Linked DNA regions of Homo sapiens: region 2 is linked to region 1. Evidence: promoter capture Hi-C in 16 types of primary human blood cells and fetal thymus (Javierre and others, 2016). All regions are on one chromosome and are shown on one strand. Each heading gives the region's core, a stretch centred on a gene start or on the middle of the fragment in contact. The rest is flanking DNA. Distances are from core to core; before and after follow the strand shown.

Region 1 (3,694 bases), core at 905-3,404:
CTTTGTGTAATTAGAGTCCTTGTTTCTTTCTTTCTCTTTCTCTTTTTTTTTTTTTTGAGACAGAGTTTTGCTCTTGTTGCCCAGGCTGGAGTGCAATGGTGTGATCTCGGCTCACTGCAACCTCCACCTCCACTGCAACCCCCATCTCCCAGGTTCAAGCGATTCTCATCCCTCACCCCCTCACCCATGCGCCACCACGCCCAGCTAATTTTTGTATTTTTAGTAGAGACAGGGTTTCACCACGCTGGCCAGGATGGTCTCGAACTCCTGACCTCAGGTGATCCGCCCACCTCAGCCTCCCAAAGTGCTGGGATTACAGGTGTGAGTCACCAAGCCCAGCCTAGAGTGCTTGTTTCTAAGTACTATACTATATTGCCTTTTCCAAATGAATGAATGCACAAACACAGATTGGTGGTTCTCAGACTGGCCTATTCTCTTCTTGGCAATGTTGGGACTCTGGTTAAAACAATCTGTTGACCAGGAGATGCATTCTTAAAGAGCATTTCAGCCTTTTTCATTGAACTTGGAATTGCAAGGTACATACTCTTAGCCATTGAAGCTACCTGCATAGTGCGAAAATGCTGACAGGGAGGCAGATTAACTCATGGTCCCCACAAACCATCACCTCCCTCCTCAGAAAACAAGCCTCTAGGCTGTTTCCCACATCCCCTTACTGTATGTAGCTCCAGGAGTGACAACTTAGTAGGACCTGTACTTAGTTCTTTCTTCTCCTTAACCAGCAGGAATGAAAGAGACAACTATAAAAGTCCAGCTCTGGCCCGACTCCCATAACCCTGCTGAGTTGGGAATACAGCTCCTGGAATATATATATATATATATATACACACACACACACATATATATATATACACACACACACATATATATATATATATACACACATATATTTTTTTTTTTTCCAGAAAAATCCCTCTGGGGTATGAGCACTATTTTCAGTTCTGGTTCAACTTTTCATTGAGATTCTATGTGGATAAGAGGATCTTGTAGTGAAAAAAAGATAAAAAGCAGTGTTTTCATCTGAGTGTGAGAAACCATGTGTGCCTAGAGGTGGGAGAACTGAGTGTTCAGAAGGCAGAAAAAATATAACTGGAAGAGGGGCACCAGAGAAGGAAGAGAAAATAAAAATAAAAGAAGGAAAGTAGGTGACTGTGGTAAGAAATGACTGTGATCTGGCCTGGCTTCAAGTTCTATTGGGACTAAGACCGCCCACCTGGGGAAGGAGTGTGTCTGTCTATTCAGTCACTGGTCCGTCACCACTGGTGATTTACTTAGAACCAATAAGCAGGCTGCCGGTTTTACAGCCCGCTGCTGATTCACTGGGGCACTTGGCCAGCCTTGGGCTGATTGATCTATCACCTGGTCAATACCTTCCCACCATTCTCCCAGCCCTCACCGCCCCAGTACCCTAGCTCCTAACTCAGATCCCCCGTGCTCCTGCTCGCAAGGCAGGATAGAGCTCATAACCAAACACTCTTCCTTTTCACTTTTCTCCTTTACAACATCCGCCCACAGAACAAGCGATTGTAACAGCAACGAGAGAGCAAGGATGGGGCCGCAGATGTTACGATTGCTATCAGTTTCAGAGGGCGAAATGTGGAATCGCTCCTTTGTACCTCGAAGGCTGGTTTAAGGCGTGGGGAATAAGGGGAAAACAGCGTCGGGCCATATCCCATTGAAGAGTCCGAAACTCAAGCGTTTGAGGTAGCCTTACCCTCGGGATTCCCTGGAGCCAGAATCAGGGGGTGCTTAGACAAAAGAAAAACAGGCCAGGGAAAAGCAGTGTGCCCCGGACTGCCGCCCTTTCTCACCGCCTGGGGTCTCGGGTGTCCTCCTGGCACCCAGGACAGCTGGACCTCGCCTCCAACCCACCGAACTCTGGGCTCCGCCATCTTGGAGCCCCCCCAGGGGAGTTTTCCAAGAAAGCTTTGGTGGGGATTCTATGTTTCCCTCCCGCCCCGCAACAAGAATTCTCAAGAGAAGGCAATACATTTGCACAGACCTGATTTGGGGCGCAGCCATATACAGAAGGAAGGGCAGAAGGAGGAGCAACAGCGGGAACATGAGCTCAACCATCTCTGCCGGCTGCAGCGGCACCAGAGCGGGATGCTCCAGCGTTGCTCGCCGACTATGGCTTCTCTTTCTAGACACGCCCCAATTCAAATTGCGACAGCCCGGGGAGCAGACCTTCTGGGAAATGTAGTCCAGAGCTTGACAGCCTCAGGCTGGCTACGTGGGAGCGCTGCCGCCAACGCTGGCAGAAGTTGAATTATACATCGCTAATCCCCAACCATCTAGGGCTTAGGGCCTGTGGGATCATTCACCCAGCTCTCAGTTATTTTTTCTGCCTTCTGAATACTCAGTTCTCCCACCTCTAGGCACACATGGTTTCTCACACTCAGATGAAAACACTGCTTTTTATCTTTTTTTCACTACAAGATCCTCTTATCCACATAGAATCTCAATGAAAAGTTGAACCAGAACTGAAAATAGTGCTCATACCCCAGAGGGATTTTTCTGGAAAAAAAAAAGTATACACTATAGGAATAGTACACTTATTCCTATAGTGTACTAGGCACCGCGGTGTTTGTGAAATCTCTGCAGTCCTCTATCTCCCCAGACCCAAGTCCAGTGCCTGGTTCAGTTTTCCCCAATCCTGGTTAGGCAGTTACCGCACTGTTTCTCCTGGAGATCAGATGTTGGCGTCTGGGAAATGAAAGGCGGATTAGACAGGAGAGGAGCGGTCCGAAGTCTGACAGTTGGGAAGGTGGGGGAATGTAAACCCTTCCTCCTCGAGGATTCCTTTTTCCAGAGAAGAGGAAGCAATAAGTCCTTGAAGACATTCTCAGGAGAATCACTTTATTGTGTCTATCTTGAATTATGGTGGCAACTATCATGATTTTTCTAGTGTTTGAGTGTTCATTGATAATAGAATATCGTCTTCCTGATGGCTTGGGTCACATACATTAACTCCCAGGGTAGCAATGAATATCTCAGATTGGCACAGTTGGTTTTGCCAACTCGTGAAAGTATTTAATCCTGTCTTGAATTAAGGCCATGAATATGTTCTCTGTGAATAAATAGGTTCCCTGTTCAATAGTTTCTTTCATCTGAGGCCTATTTCCTGGGGGTGAAAGTGGAGGGTGTTTTAACCAATCAATATCTGTCTGTGATTCCTTAATTGTACCCAGTAATATTTTCTGGTCCTTTTGCATAATTTCCATTTGGTTAAAAGACACGGGTTCCAATGAACTAATATATTTTATAGCAAATTGGAGAAGAGAGGGTTTCCTTCACACAATACTAATTCCTACCAATTTAACATTAGATTACCTAGCAATCATCACATTTTGTCACATTCTCATTATTGTGTTACCTAATATTTGTATTGGGTTTTATAACTTTATAAAAGCCTTTCATTTGTTTTGTTCCTTATTCAGTCATTCACGCATTTGACAAACATTTATGGCATTCCTATAGTGTACTAGGCACTGTGCTGATGTCCAGCAGGAAGCCAGGAACACATAATCTCTGCTCGCCCGGAGTTCATGGACTGTCAGAGAAGACCTTAAATAAGTAATCACTGTAAATAAATCATGGTGAAGGTTATGAGGAGGATTAGAGAAAGCTCTGGGAGCTTTTACAAGGGAGAGGAGTTCTAGATCAGGAGAGGCTT
Region 2 (3,375 bases), core at 677-3,176, 330 kb before region 1:
AAATGTCTTGCAACTGTTCCATACATTTCTGTAACATAGTTTATTTTTATGCCCAATTTGAAACTTTTTAGCTCTCAAATTTGAGAGCTTTACATACACATATTCAACAACAGTTTCCCCACCCCCACCCTCGAAAAGCCCTGTTTAAAAACGAAACAAACAGTCAGCTGTTTCTTGGTGGGTAAGGCCATTGAATGTCTACTTCTCTTTATTTGCTAAATCCCTATTTTGTAGGGATTTTGTATTCCCTACAAAGAAATACATCTCTGCTACTGTCATTAATATGCTGCTCTTTGTTGTCAAACAGATGAGTACTAATAGTTTGCACTTATTGGTGTTATGTACTCTGGCACTGAATATATATTAATGTTGCTTTTTAAGTAAAATGTTTCTAATTATAATATATTTATGAATAGTTTTGAGAGAATATAGTCTTACTGATAAGAGGACAGACTCTGGATCCAGACTTCATGGATTCAAATCCTGACTCATCACCTGTTAGCAGTATGTGAAAGAACAAGTAACTTAACCTGTGCTTCAGTTTTTTAATCTATAAAATGGGGAGAACTAGGGAGAAAGTTGTACCACAAGGAGATAGGCAATGGCCAGATCATATAGGATTCTGTAGGTAGTGGAAAGATACATAAGTCAGTGGGAAGCCACTGAGAAGATATAGGCAGGTGCCAATTAATAAGTTATTATATGAATTTTCACAAGGTTTTCTTAGGCCTTTAAGTTCTGTTACTACCTACGTTTTGAGCAGTGACAACAGTGAAGGTTAACAGAAAAACATGAAAATCATCAGCCATGATTAGTTTGAGAGCTTCCTTTTTTAAATATGCTTCTACCCAGGCTATGATTTCAGGCTTGTGGATCATAAAAGGAGTAGTGCTGAAAGTAGGTTGGGTGGATCAAAGGGAATAATTGTAAATATCTTTAATGCTTGGAGGTTAAGAGAAACTTGAACTTTGTAGTAATGGAGATTAAAGCTATTCTCAAGATTAGGTATACCTATTCAATAAAAGAAAGGAATATTTGGGAGTATTGGGGATAAGAGAAGCTAGACATTGTGAATTCAAGGAAAAAGAATTATGAGAGGAGGATGCATTTTAGTTTATTTTGTGATTAAAATTTTTTTAGTTTTTGTTGTTTTGACATGTGACACTGTAATTTTGGCTATAATAAATGACAGAATGTATCATTTGGTATATTGGTTAGGGTTTAGGTAGAAAATTTTTTCCTTTATATAGTGAGTGGTAGCGTATACAATGTTTGCTCACTTCGGCAAAGAGTAGCTTTAGTTTTCTGATTAGTTATAATAGTGATGCTTCCCATCATTTGATATGCCTTAAAGTAGTATTTTACTCTTGAGGTATTCCTTTAATCCTTAGGTCTTGGAGTACTTTATAGATGGTCATTATTTTTTATGATTCCTCTGAAACTAAAGGCAGAGAATCACCCAAGCATTACAAAAATGTTGAGCAAAATAAAAATTAAAGCTTGGTTCCTGAACATTATCTGTTTTCTGGTACCACTTAAGAAGTTTCAAAGGATGAGAAGACTAAGACTAATAACTATTTTTTTCTTCATCTTTTCTTTCAGTGGCAGGATGTGGAAATTGATTTTTTTTTTATTTTCACCTTAACTGAATACTTACTTAATTCTTTTGTTTAAATTGCAGAATGCCGGGTCTAAGTTGTAGATTTTATCAACACAAATTTCCTGAGGTGGAAGATGTAGTGATGGTGAATGTCAGATCCATTGCTGAAATGGGGGCTTATGTCAGCTTGCTGGAATACAACAACATTGAAGGCATGATTCTTCTTAGTGAATTATCCAGAAGGCGTATCCGTTCTATCAACAAACTCATCCGAATTGGCAGGAATGAGTGTGTGGTTGTCATTAGGGTGGACAAAGAAAAAGGTAAGTGAGAAAAATATCTGTAATATAAATTTCAGATTTAAAATGGTTTATTTAAAAATACATTTTTTGTAAATTGCAAGCTGCAGCTTAAAAAAAAAAGCTCCTTTTATACTTAAACCTTTTACATACAAAGTTGTTAGAAAAGGATGCCAATTAGCTATCTAAGCAAGATCTCTTAATAGTAGTTTAATTAGTACATCCTAGGATTTTATGGATCAGATAACTTGAATTTTATTTCTAGTGTTTATCAGGATCTTGATAATTGACTCATGGTAACCAAACTTAGAGACAGGTAAGTCAGAGTACTAGTTCATTTACATTGGTAGGCCTGAATATGTTGGATGCCTTTTTCTTGATTTAAAGCTAAAATAGTAATGAGATCACTGGGTAAGCATGAAAATGGGGCAAATGGATTTTAGGGATCTTTTATATAAGCTTTGAAAAAGCAATATACTATGCGTGTATATACACACCTGAAATCCAACATTGTATATCTTGCTGGTAATTAGAATGTTTGCATCTACCAGATCTCGTGGTATCTTTCAGACAGTTTTGGATGAGCATTCATTTTTTACTTATTGGATGCCTTTTCTGGGCCCCATGTAAATCATCACCTTTGTGAATACTCTTTTTTTAAACATGGTGTACAATACCATTACGTAGGTTTTAGTTTCAGCCATCTTACTATAATTTGTTAGGTGTTAGTTTTAGGTCATTAGTTACCATCATGTCCGAAAGGCTTCATATCAGTCACCTTGATTCAACTTACCCTTCTGAATCTCCTCAGCCGTCTGGTTTACTGATACTTTCTCACTTCTGCAAGTGATTAATTTTATACATACTGACATTTTAATTTTTTTTATTATAGCCTTAGATGATACATAGATTTTGAGGATGTCTTATGCCTTAGGTAGTGACTGCTACTTAGCACATGGATTGTTTTAAATGTTTTGCTATGACTTAGCTATAGCCCCGCCCAAAATTATTAAACTACTTTGAGACTATTTGTTAAACTTAGGTAAGTCTTCACATCACTGTCCTAGTAGTACCTAAAGTAGTGTCTAATCTTGTACTTTTTTTTTTTTTTTTTAAGAATTGGGGTCTTGCTCTGTCACCCAGGCTGCAGTGTAGTGGTATGATCATAGGTCGCTGCAGCCTTGAACTCCTGTGTTCAAGTGTTCCTCAAGCAGTCCTCCCAAGTAGCTGGAACTACAGGCATGTGCCACCCTGCCCAGCTAACTTTCTTTGTAGAGATGGGGTCTTGCTGTGTTGCCCAGGCTAGTCTTGAACTGGGCTCAAGCGATTCTCCTGCCTTGGCCTCACAAAGTACTGGGATTACAGGTGTGAGCCACTGTGCTCAGCCTTCTTTTTCTATTGTATAAAATATACACAAAAGGAGGAATCAAATATGTTTTTAGTTGCAATCAGAAAAAATATGGAATGGCATACTTG

What was found. The method cuts DNA at HindIII sites, captures the fragments that hold promoters and counts their contacts. A CHiCAGO score of 5 or more calls a contact.
Region 2: a contact is called between a fragment that was not itself captured here and the fragment with the promoter of RDH11 in region 1, in 2 of 17 cell types (fetal thymus and naive B cells). The highest score is 7.0, in fetal thymus.

What each region holds. Positions count from the first base shown.
Region 1 is chr14:67,693,610-67,697,303 of GRCh38, forward strand. It overlaps RDH11 (retinol dehydrogenase 11), which reads right to left and starts at 2,155. Exons shown (of 7, transcript NM_016026.4): 1 at 2,021-2,155. The coding sequence starts at 2,094. It also overlaps a transcript of GPHN not described here. RefSeq lists a silencer at 1,263-1,322 and enhancers at 1,672-2,308, 2,353-2,402, 2,423-2,472. The HindIII fragment of the contact is 2,925 bases long and covers 1,943-3,694 here.
Region 2 is chr14:67,363,086-67,366,460 of GRCh38, forward strand. EIF2S1 (eukaryotic translation initiation factor 2 subunit alpha) reads left to right here. Exons shown (of 8, transcript NM_004094.5): 2 at 1,682-1,923. The coding sequence starts at 1,683. It also overlaps a transcript of GPHN not described here. Among named protein-coding and RNA genes, the nearest start is that of EIF2S1, 4.4 kb to the left of the region's middle. The HindIII fragment of the contact is 859 bases long and covers 1,498-2,356 here.